Regions from separate parts of the Homo sapiens genome. Here regions 1 and 2 are each linked to region 3. Evidence: promoter capture Hi-C in human tissues and cell types (Jung and others, 2019). All regions are on one chromosome and are shown on one strand. The core of a region is centred on a gene start or on the middle of the fragment in contact, and the rest is flanking DNA. Distances in the headings are between cores, read along the strand shown.

Evidence for each region. Contacts are between HindIII fragments. The study calls those that stand out against the background at their distance.
Region 1: a fragment that was not itself captured here is called in contact with the fragment with the promoter of MYRIP in region 3 in 3 of the 25 tissues and cell types used here (bladder, pancreas and small bowel).
Region 2: a contact is called between a fragment that was not itself captured here and the fragment with the promoter of MYRIP in region 3, in 4 of the 25 tissues and cell types used here (hippocampus, pancreas, psoas muscle and 1 more).

What each region holds. Positions count from the first base shown.
Region 1 is chr3:39,845,216-39,849,440 of GRCh38, reverse strand. The region is part of intron 1 of MYRIP (myosin VIIA and Rab interacting protein); the gene reads right to left. Among named protein-coding and RNA genes, the nearest start is that of MYRIP, 38 kb to the right of the region's middle. The HindIII fragment of the contact is 6,157 bases long and covers 1-4,225 here.
Region 2 is chr3:39,770,963-39,774,879 of GRCh38, reverse strand. No RefSeq gene overlaps it. Among named protein-coding and RNA genes, the nearest start is that of MYRIP, 37 kb to the left of the region's middle. The HindIII fragment of the contact is 6,388 bases long and covers 1-3,917 here.
Region 3 is chr3:39,807,503-39,811,673 of GRCh38, reverse strand. It overlaps MYRIP (myosin VIIA and Rab interacting protein), which reads right to left and starts at 2,065. Exons shown (of 17, transcript NM_015460.4): 1 at 1,758-2,065. The HindIII fragment of the contact is 15,982 bases long and covers 1-4,171 here.

The sequences.
Region 1 (4,225 bases), core at 377-2,876, 38 kb before region 3:
TACCCTGGCACAATTTTTCCATTGGATGGTTAAAACTACTTCATAAAAATGTAGTTGTTTTGATGGCTTCAGTATTAGACTCGGAAATAAATGAGAAGCACAGAGGTGGCTTTATCTATTTGTATCCAACTTCAGACTACCCAAAGCATCCTGGGAAATTTTTTTTCTTTCCTTATTCCGTCATCCATTGGTACTGGAATATGGGACCCCACTTTAGGATTACAGTGGACAGCGTGGTTTGGAAAGAGGACAAGGCAAGTTGTAGCCCATCATTTTGGGTCCTTTGTCCTTTCTGTCTGCTCCTACTTCAATGCTGTGGTTTACCTATATCTATATCCTATAGGATAGACAGATGTACCCTCTACATCCTAGTAATGTGTTCCATAGAATAAAAAATTCTCCTAGAGACTCACAGAACTGGAAGAATACATTAAAATGAATTAATTCCCTTCTTTCAAAATACGTTACTCCTGTGCACATTTGATACAGAGGTCTGAACATGCTATGGCATATTTTTCCTAGGTCTGCTCTTTTTTTTCCAACTCCTCCTTACCACAGAGATATAAATTATTAAAACTCACAATGTTTCCCTCTCTCGTGGCATAAAAATTTAGCAACACGTTTAGGGAAGAGGTCATCTTAATTGAAAATTCCAAGTTTTGTGCATTTGCCTTCAAAAATAAGGAAAAGTATCTATTAATCAAAATACTGATGAATCTCAAGTGTATAACATGTTTACATGTCTGACATGGATTTCTGATATACTTCACTTTTATTTCACCCTTAAATATTTGTCATCTGAAAGTACATGCTCATGAGAGCTCTTAAGTAGCTTAGCCTCCTTTCTTACATGTGTCATGCAGATATTCTTAGCAGTGTCATGTGACTATGTATGAACAATAATCAGTAGAACTTCCCTTACAAGGGAAAGGCAAGGCCTCTCCACTGAAATAGCAGAAAAAGTAAAGAGGAGTCAAAATAAGCAAAAGGAAACTATTTAATATCCTACTTTCTTTCTTAAAAATGAGTGTAACTTATTAAAGGGGAACACAGAACTCTGTATTTTGATAAATGATTGAAGTATTAGGCTTGTATTCTGGTTTATTTTAAAAAAATAAAAAGTACCTTTCCAATTTTATGCAAATACAGTACAATCATTCAATGACATATGAAGCAGCCATTAAGAATATCTATAATGAGCATTTGCAATAGCATGAGGAAACATTTAAATGATGCTGAGTAGGAAGGCAGGATACAACACTACACCCGTGTGGCTCCAACACTGCAGAGAAACTTATCTGTGAGGCTCAGCTGGGACTCACAGTCTGGCGTCTATAACACTAGAAGGCTGCTCATTTGTTCTTCTCCACTCCTAACCCCACCAGCATGTTGGAGGAAGCTTTTGCAGTACCCTCTAGCCTTCAACGGTATTACAATTTTGGAGGGCAGGAAGGTGCTTACGATGAGTATCAGTCAGAGCAGTTCTTCAGAGAGCTGTGTGATTGCTGCAGCCCTAATCATGCCCAGGTTTACTCATAAACATAGAGAAAGACTCAGAGAAAGACTGGGATTCAGGGAAATCCTTGGGGGGTGAGGGGGATAACAGATAACATGGTCCTGCATGGAAACTACTAAGGCAGCAAACGCTACTATGAACTCCAGCCAGAGAGGCTCAGGGAGGGCATATATGGAAGCATTCATACAAAAGAAGGAATGAGTTTCCAGAAATACAGTAGATGAGGACAATGCCACTGGAGAGAGGAGGCCAGGCAGCCAAGAGGCCTGGGCCTTAAAAGGATCATCTCTGTGGGTATCAAAATCACTGAGAATTAACCCAGAAGCAGTGCCATCAAGAAAAGAAGGTAAAGAACTATGACCTGTTGAGGTACTTGTTGAGAGCAAGGAGCATATGGGCTTGCTAGTGGAAGAGGGTAGTTATGAGTACCAGCTATGACTATACAACCAGTTACAGAAACAAGAAGTGTAACTATCATGAGTATTTCTTCCTTATTTTGTTATGAACATGAAGAGAAGAAAACAAATACCTTTGTTTTCTTCTCTTTCTTACCTCCTTATCATGTACTGACTTTATAGCATAGCATTTAAGTAGAGTTAACTTTACATCACAGTATTTAAAGTTATGGGATACACAAGAGTGAACATCATCCAAGACTTTGCATCCTCTTCTGGGGAAAGGGTTAGTGAGTTTTCAGTTGCATGCAGGATATCTTTATCATAAAAGGTGGAAGTATGACCTTGTTATTGTCTTTATTTGGAGATTAAGTATGGGTTAAAGAGATGCATATGGTTGCCAAGTTGATAAAGGATGGACCTGTGATTATTAATTTCATGTGTCAACTTGCAGGGTGTTTTTGGATGAGCTTGGCATTAAACTTTGAGTAAAAGAGATTGCCCTGCTTAATGTGAATCAACCTAACTCAGTTGGTGCAAAGTCTGGATAGAACAAAAAGAATGAGCTCCCTGAGCAAGAGAGGATTCTCCAGCAGACTGCCTTCAGATTTCATATGCACAATTTGCTCTCCTGGGTGTCCACCTGCTAGCCTTCCAATGGGAACTTTACCATCAGCTCTCCTGGGTCTCAAGCTGCTGGCCCACACTGCAAATGCTGGACTCACCAACCTCAATAATCATGGGATCCAAGTCTTTAAAATAAATCTATTTCTATAAATATGCATATTGTATTGATTCTGTTTCTCTCAAGAACCCTAACATTAATCTTAACAGAATTAGAGGAAAGGATTTAGGGATCAGCAGGGAAGTGCAATAAGGGAGGAAAGTAGATAATAGCATCTGATGACACAGTTTTTGTTTTGCTATATAGAGGTGGCAGCCTGAACAACTTCAAAGCAACAATGAGGAACAAGGAAGGCACTTCTAACACCTGCAGGCCCAGTGGTAGTTGGATAGAAACAGCATCTACTTGGGAGAGAGAAAGGGAAGGAAATGAAATGCACATCTGGGAAGATGATCCAGGGGATACTGCTGATGATCAACCTTCACAGCCCTCATAGGGAAAAGGAAAGGTGGGAGACAGGGTCAGACGAAGGAGTGTACATAGGTGAGTGGGGATCAGAGTCCAAGGGAATGCAGGGTGATCTAGGAGACCTGGGATTCTTGTGGAAATTAATGAACTAAGATTAAAGGAATGATAACATTGGCCCTGATGGTACCAAGGCAGATGGTGTCTGCAAGCTTTGATGACTGGGATAGGAGAGAGGAATGAAGCTTTTCCAAGAGTTGAGAGAGTTCAGGGGACCACCTTTGTTAACTCCTGCTGAACAGTGGGAACTCTTCCAACTTCTATGCTAATCGCCATCCATGTTGTCATTTTAAATGCTTCAAAACAAAGTTTTCCAAAATGTGCATATATTTTAATTTCTAGTAACTCATTTAGAAGGCACAAAATTTATATTTGATCTGCAAGTTCTAGAATCATTCTGTGACTGCAGGAAGGTCATCTCATTTTGCAGTGAACATAAATAATTGAAATTTGATCTAAGTGTTTTTACCTGTTCATTCAGTTTCAGGTGACTACTGGAAGCATGAATTTTTTTTTTTTTTTTTTTTGGTAGGGGAAAGTTCTTTGTAATGGACCTAGTGCTGCAGGGCAACTGCTCTTGCGCTGACTGGAAAAGGCCTGCCTGGATCAGTATCTGTGCTTAGAAAAAAAGTGGGTGACAATTCCCTTATCATCCAGGAGTCCCTTGAGCCCCCACCTCCAGTCAATTACTAGTAGATAGATGGCATTTATTTGTTGACTGATTTATTGGAAAGCAGACTATTAAAAATAACTCTTGCAAAATTTCAAGTCCTGCCACAGTGATGTTACTAAAACAATGTCAACTATTCGTACTAAATAAGATACGCAAAGTGCCCAAAAAGTGCCTAATGCTCAGTATATGACTTTGAAACTGAGGGATACATTCTATACCTAAATAGAAAAGTACCCCAACTATAGCTTTCAATAATTGAAAAGCAGACAGAAATATAGATAATTTAAAAAATGAGAAAATAAAATGTATATAAATAGTAAATTCCCAAATGAGGGGTATTTTTTAAATATGTGGTAAAAAGCCAAATTCCAAACCAGCTGCCACTGAACTTCACACCAACCATCCCAAGGGCATACATCTGTGCCCAAAGTAAATGTCCAAATCAGCCCAGCAGCACCCCATCCAGGCCTTGCAATGAGACAGAGGTAGCA
Region 2 (3,917 bases), core at 519-3,018, 36 kb after region 3:
AAATATTTCAATTCTGTCACTGTATTATATTTGTGGTGGGGTTTTCTAGTACAACATTTTATCCAAGTAATTTTTATCATTATCAAGCTTGTTAAAAAAAACTTTTATCTTCAAATAATTTTAGATTTAGAGAAAAATTGCAAAGATAGCAAGAGACTTCCTGTGTACTCTTAACCTAGCTTCTCCTAATGTTAACATATTATACAATCATTAAACATTTGTCAAAAGTAAGAAATTAACATTTCTTATGATACTATTAACTAATTTACAGATTTTATTTGAATTTCTTCAGTTTTCATACTAATGTACTTTCTCTGTTCCAAGATTTCATCTAGCATACCATGTTACATATGGTCATCATGTTTCATTTTTCTCCTATAATCTGACAATTTTTAGTGTTTCCTTGTTTTCATGACCTTGACACTTTTGAACAGTACTTGTCAGGTGTTTTGTGGAATGTTCCTCAATTTGGGTTTGTCTGATATTTTCTCATGATTAGACTGATGTTACGGATTTGGGGGAAGATCATGACAGAGGTGAAGATGTCTCCTCATCACATGATGACTTATAGTCATGTTGATATTATGTACCCTCAGATACGATGTGATAACTGGTGATGTTAACCTCGATCACTTGGTTAAGGTAATGTCTGCCAGATTTCTCTGCTTAAAGTCACTGTTTTCCCCCTTTTCATTCTCTATATGTCAGAAGCAAGTCATTAAATGTAGCCCACACTTAAGAAGAAGGAAATTGAGCTTCACTTCCTGGATCGGGGAGAAAAATCTACATTTATTTGATTTTTTTTTTTTTGTAAAGACATTTTATCCCTTCTCCTCTATTTATTTATTCATTCAATTGTTTATTTGTGTTGGCATAGCTTTATAAATATTTGTTTTATTCTTTGAGTTATAATCCAACTTATTCAAGAAATTGGAATTTTAGTGTTTTCAAATTTATCAACCTTTTATCTTCTGTCTTCGATTCTCTTGAATATCTAGGCACAATGACATCCACAGATAGCTTAACCTATTCAGAAAAATATTTACATCTTATAACTCTATTTCTTGTGTTATTGCAAAGGCAATGGTATGTGTAATAATCTTGAACATTAGAGAGTTGACCTGTATATCTTATTCTTTCTCTTTATGCTATTTGCTCTTAGTTACTATAGGTAACTTTCTTAAGTGAAAGTAATTTTTCGACATCCCTCATTAAAGAGGTAACTTACTCTTTTGCAATTGAGAAGTCACTTACAGGAAAAAAAGGAGATAATTGGAGACCATGTGAATATGTTGTTTCCCCAAAAGTTTTTACCTAATGGTGTTAGCATCCACTGATAATTCTTGCCTAAATCAATTATTACATTGGAGTTGTAAAATGATTTTCCCTACTATTATTATTCTTTCTAAATCTATTAGCTAGTGTTTTTCTATAAAACGTGAGGCTTTTTTTTCTCTTATGTTTCTATTTTGGGGTATCACTGTATCTTTTAATTCAGCATGTTCTAATTGATTATTGTCATTATTTTATTTAGTACTCAAATTGTACCATAATTAGCCCATCATGCTCCTTTAAGTTAGCTCTCATGTCTGTTTATCATGTCTCTATCAGATTTTGAGCATCCTTTCACTTTCTGACACAACATGTTCAGGGGTCATCTTGTATTCTCCCAGCTCCTGTTGTGCAACAAACCATTTTCCAAGGACCATTGGTTTCTTTTATTAGAGAATGGTATTTAGAAACCAAGATCTGGGCAGTTGGTGTGCTCACTGCTACTATTAATACTTTGTCATGGCTTCTAGACTCTCAGTAGACAGAGCTAGAAAATATATGTATGTACATGTAAATGTACACACATTTCTATTTGTCTGTCTGTCTCTATGTTATATATCATGAGTTTGTGCCAATAATAAAAAGAAACTTTCAATTTCAATCCAGCACCACAGATTTCATTTTAGCTTCCTCATTCTCAATATATTTACTTATCTCAAAATTACAATGCATAAAAAGTAGTTTTAGAATTGCTAACACGTACCACTATGGGGAAAAAAACAAACTTTGCTAACTATAGTTCAGTATTTCTTTACGGTTCTTTTTTAGCTTACTCTGAAGGCATATAGTCAAAATACTGTGTTTAAAAAGTTACTTGGGTGAGTTCTTCTTATTTTCACCTTCAGTTTAGTGATGCTATTCATTTGGAATACAGTTAGATATATTTCTTTTTGTTTGCATTCATTATAGGGTTTCCTCTCTCATCCTTGTAAATATTTTAATTTTATTTTTTATTTCTATAAAACACAAACATGACTCCAAAGATGAAATTACAGCAAACCAACTAATCAGAGAAGTATTGCCTCATGCTCCCCAACCCTTCTACCCCATTCCCATTCATATCCTTGAGGTAACCAATTTTGTTAGTTTTTGGTTTGTCCTTCTTGTCTGTACTTTTTCAAAAATGAGCAGGTACACGTACAATGTCTTCTTTCATTATTTCTCTTGCAAAAAGGTGCTGTACTATATCTACTCCTTTCTTTTATTCACCTTAACAATAGTCTATCACTACATTATTGTTATTAGTGCTTCCATTTCAAAGCCTAGGCTCAGAAAGTTAAGTAACTTTTCTTGGCTCACAAAGCCAAGTGGTAGAACTAGGAAAATGGACTTGCACTCTGATACTTTTTCTTCTGATCTTTTCTATTTTTTGTAATTAATTTGTAATTCTCAAATTAGAGTTAATAGGTAAAAATGATATTTACATTTTTATTTTCTGGAAATATCACTGCTTCCCAGAAAGTAAATCCCAGCTTTGTTCAGAGCAGTTGATGATATGTTTAATGAGCATTTGGTGTAGCTCTAATATTTCCTGTTGTGGCACAGCTTACTGCTTCAAGTTTATTTTTTGAGAGTTGAAAATACTTTGCAAGATTATTTGCTTCCTTACCATCCCACACTCCTTCTGTGTATTCCTACTTTAGGATTCTCAGCTAAGATGCATATTGCCTTTAAAATCTTTACAATTTAATGTATTAGAGAGTTGACTTTACCACCAAAATCATAGCAAGTAATCATTGTATGATTTCTTCCTTTTTAAAAAAATATTCTAGCAGTTCAAAAAATTATTTTTTGGTTCTATCTACAGAGAGGTACACATGTGGCAACACTATATTTTACTAATATACAAATTCACCTAAAATACCTATCATCACGGAAATAGTTTGAAAAGGGAAGAATAACCCAGTCAACTTGAGTTTGAGTAGCCACCTTTCAGAATACTGATCAATTTTTCTTTCATTCAGCTTTTGAGCTGATGCCTTCCTTTCTTCACTGTTTAGCCCCCAAAGACCCCAATACAACAATATTAAGCCACTGTAAATATAAAGTTTATCTCTGGAACTAAATGTGACAACATGGTCCCACCTGAGTCATGGCAGAATTTTCTCAACTGTCAATATTGGACACACCTAGATGGGTCCTTTTGGTGAATAAACAAACTGAGAAAAACCACATGTAAAAAAGGGTTAGCAATTAAAAGAAAGCAGACCAATCTGAGGTATCAGAACAAATTCTTACGAATTTGACTTTTTCTAAGATGCATCTTTATACACTCAGTGATATTCTACATCAGAGAAAAATGCCTTGGAGGAAAAAATATGGTCACTGAGTTTTAAAATACAATGGACCGCTTAGATTCTTGGGTATAATATTGTATATTATTAGATAGGTTCATGGATGAGAATATTGTATCATCCACACATACTAATATTTTTGTCTATGTCTTTCTAGTAGTCCAATATTTATACCTGTTGTTCTTTATCTCATTTCATTATATGGGGTATTAGCTATATTAAATATATTTTTATGTAATTATAGTGATAATAAGTGTTCTTACATTGTTCTTGCCTGTCGCTATTTATAAA
Region 3 (4,171 bases), core at 816-3,315:
CACACAGCCTCCCCCCACTCTCCAGAAACAGTCCCACAGACACAGCTTCTGGCCCACAGAGACAGCTCGCAGATGGAGGTAGTGGTGGGTAATTAGGAGAGACGCAGCTGCCCATGGCCAGGCAAAGGAACGTGAGCAGGAAGATGGAAAGCAGTATCTTCAAAGTCTTGGGAAACTAAATTTCTCTAAAAAGATTTTGAAATCTGCAAATAGGGTCCCAGATATTGCTGTAAAATTTTTTAAATTACCTCCATTTCCACCGTAGACCCAGATGCCTTGAACCATCTTCCTTCGACTTTTTAATAAAACCCCAGTGCATTTTCACATTTATCATATCCTATGAACTCCAAGTTCCTTGGGAAGATTGAAAGGCGGCGGGGATTATTTCATTTTATAAATGAAAAAGTTCAGGTTCAAAGATGCTGGTCAGTCATCACAAAACTAAGTATTGATCTCATGGCTGAGTTTCAGAGTTGGGGTGGGGGAGGCTGAGTTGAAGGGACAAGGTGATAATGGCAAGAGAGGCTAGGTGACGCTCTCCCCAGCCCAGAGCTCTGAGAAGCGCCCACAACACCACAGGCGGCCCCACTGGAGCCACCTCAAAGGACCTGGAGTAAAAGAATCACACCCGACATCATTTGCATACCCCAAGACTGGCCAGCCCCCAGTCTCAGTCTTCCTCCCCTGAGTAAGTGTCAAGAAAATCAACAAATCGAGATCATGGTCGGGGAGATGGAGAGCATGGAAATGAAGCCAGACTCAAGGCATTTTCTAGGAGCGGATAGGAGCCAACGTTAGCGAACCAAGCCCACAGCGTACTCGCTTCTCTTAGGAAGTCCCTAGGCCCAAACCAGTGTGTGCATTTAAGAGTTTTGGGATACGTACTTATCCTTGGGGACGGTGCTTATTTGGCAAAAGAAAAGAGGAGCAGGACGGATATAAGAACAAATTCCCCTACCCTGCCAAGACGTCAGTAAATTAAGGAACAAGAAGGGGAGCAAGTGCTCCAAAAAGCCGCAGGTCTTGGGGTTCCCACCACTGAATCTTTCCGCTCCACGCGTCCATCAGGAAGATCCTCCGCCGTTACCTCCAAATCTATGTAGAGCCCCCTGGGATTGGCTCCCTACCTCTTCAAGTCTGGCGGCTGTGGCGGAAAGGGAGTATGAGGAGGAACCCGGGATGAAGCTGAAGTGACCGCCCCGCCAACAGCTCTCCCCTCCCCAGGCAGCCCGCGGGCGAGGGCCAGACGCAATCCACCTGTGTTCTAACTCTGAGCACCAGCTGTGACCTTGAGAGAGTCCCTGATTACCCCCGTTTTACAGAATTAAGAGTTTGAGTCAGGTCCGTCGCGCTGGGCTGCTTGCGGGGCGCTTAACGGATGGTTTGAGGCGTCCCGCCGGTGCGCCCGCAGCACAGTAGGTACGCGGTGAACCGCAGCCCAAGCACTACGTGGCCATCCGGGATCGGAAAACGCGAGGGAAACGCAGAGGCGAGCTCCCACCCCAGCAGCGAGAGAAAGAGGCGATTCTGGCTCCGCGATGATCCCTGAGCAAGTTCAAGTACCCGCGCCCCTCGCCCCTCCGCAGAGGCTGACTGGCCGCGCCTAGGGTTCCTGGCTCCGGACGCGCACAGGGTGCGGGGGAGCGTGAGAGACACCTCCACACCTTCACACACCCACCCCCGAAGTTGCGGCAACGTTGAGGGGAGAGTGGCGCAAAGCTGCCAGAGGGGAGAAGAGGGAGGCGGACGGTACTCACGGGGGGTGGCCAGCCTGAAGCAAGTCCGCGACCGGGGTCATCGATGGCGGCCGGGCTCAGGCCACCGCGCCTCAGTACGCCCAGGGCACCTGCCGCAACGCGCCGCGTGGATTAGAGGCTGCCGGCGGCGAAGAAGGGGCGCGGGTCGGTCTGCGCGCTAAAGCTGGGCTGCAGCACCGCGGGGGCTCGGCTGCCAGAACCGCAGCCGCAGCGGGAACCCGGGAACCGACAGGAGGCGGGAGCGCAGCGGCGTCGGCAGCAGCGGCTGCGAGGGAGGCGCCCGCGCCGCAGGCAGCCAGGGCCAGCCTGGCCGCAGCCACCGCCGACACCTGCTGGCCCGGCCGAGAGCCAATCAGAGGCGCCCGGAGCGGGGGAGCCTGCGGAGGCGGGGCGGGGGCGCGTGCAGGGCGCCCGGCGGGAGGGGCGGCCCGCGATCGCGCCTGCGCCGGGGCAGGGGGTGCCCGCCGGGCCGGTTCCTCCAGAGCACCTCGGGCGCGCGGGCGGCACGCGCCGGGAGGGGCGGGGCGCACCGGGAGGAGGCGGGGCAGGGCTGCGCGCGCCCGGGGCGGGGACCCGCGCCCCTCCCGGGGCTCTTCCCTGCGGCGCAGTGCAGTATTGGGGCCGCGGTTCGGGAGCCCCCATGTGCGACTCCAGGTCCTTCCCCGATTCTAAGTCAGGCTTTTCCTGTCTCCTGCCTCTGAGTCCTGGGGGCCCGGACCCTCAGTGACCGTAGAGTAATGGGTCACCAGAATCCGGGGCCTGCCTGAATCTAAGACATGGTGTGGCGCTCCTCCACAGACAGCTCTTCCCCACTTCACAGTCCCTGGGTAATTAAAGTCTCCGTAGTGACCCCTATCTGGATTGCTTTAATTCTCCCATAAATTTACTACTACGCTAACGACGCTCATTCATTCAACACACATCAAAGGGGTTACCGATCAGGGAGCTGTCCAGGCTAATGCGCCCCCAAGTCTCCCAAACACAGCTGCGGAACCGCCGGGTTAGTGAGCCCGCGCTGTCAGAAAGACTCCCAAAGACTGCTGCAAGTGAGGAACGCTTTCGGGCTCGTGCCAGGAGTTCCCGGTCCTGGAAGAATGACTGGGAGTTGAAAGGTTCCACTCCAGGCCGGGACTTCATTGTGCGTTTGCATCCATTAAGCCAGGGATCTTCCTGAGACCCACTGCCTCAGCCCCAACAACTCGGCTGTGAAAACACTTTGTCAATTTTAGCTGCAGGGTGGAAGTCGCTCCATGAAAATAAAGCATTTATGGAGTTACACTGGCGATTTCTGAATCCCTGGAAATCCTCTCAAGCCGGTGGGTTGAGGCTGTTCTCTCCGTGTAAATGTGCGCAGTAGAAATAAATGGCTTGTTTGCTGATCAGTCCACAGCAGAAAACAAAACAAAACAAGACAAAACCTTAAAGAAAGGAACTCGGAAGGTAAAGGAGTTAATTTCTTTAAAGATTCGATTCCCTCCTTTAAAGGGATTTTAATGTCTACAAACTGGTAAAGTGGAAGGAAGTTAGTTTGTTTCTCTTTTGTTTACATTAAATTTAAATTTTATTTAGCTGTGCTTGATTAGCATTCATGTGGCACAAAATTCTAAAACTACAAATGGAACACAGTTAACAAGACTCCCTCCCACCCTTGTCTCTCAATTCCTCTTCCTGGGGGCAACCAGTGTGTACCTCCCTCAAGGAAATTGACATATACACAAACATATTTGTCTAATGCTCTTATTTTTATTTTTGTTGTACAAACTATGCACATTGTTTTACATTTTGATCTTTTCCCTTAACAAGATATTATCGTGGAGTCATTCCATATCATTACCAAAAACTTTTTCTTGTTATTTTACAGCTGTATGATATTCCATTGAATAAGATATGCCAAAATTTATGTAAGGGCCCCCAATTATGGGCATTTAAATGGTCTCCAATCTATCACTGTTAATAACAATTATGCATGAATAACTTTGTTCCTATGTAACTGTGTACGTGTGGGGGTACATATGAAGAATAAATCTGTACAACTGGATCATGGGGTCAACGGTGATGTGCATTTGTAATTTGGATAATGTCAAATGCCCTTCATAGAGATATAAACTCATGATCTCACACAAGGTATGTGAGTGCATATTTCACACACCCACCCCTCTGATGGTTCTGAGCCTGTTAGCTCTCATATCCATTCCTAGTCCTTCCGACTCTGCTTCATGGGGGGCTTCATTTCCCAGACTCCCCTATCAATTGGCCGATGGGACTCAGCAGTAGGAGAATAGGAGGGAGAAAGGGAGAAGCCAGGGTGTTTCCCATTCTTCCCTTTCAGCTTGAGTGGTGGGAACAGAAGGGTGTCTAGGGCAGCAGCTACTCCTCCTGGGTGGTCCCAAGTCCAGTAGGACAGGCTCAGTATG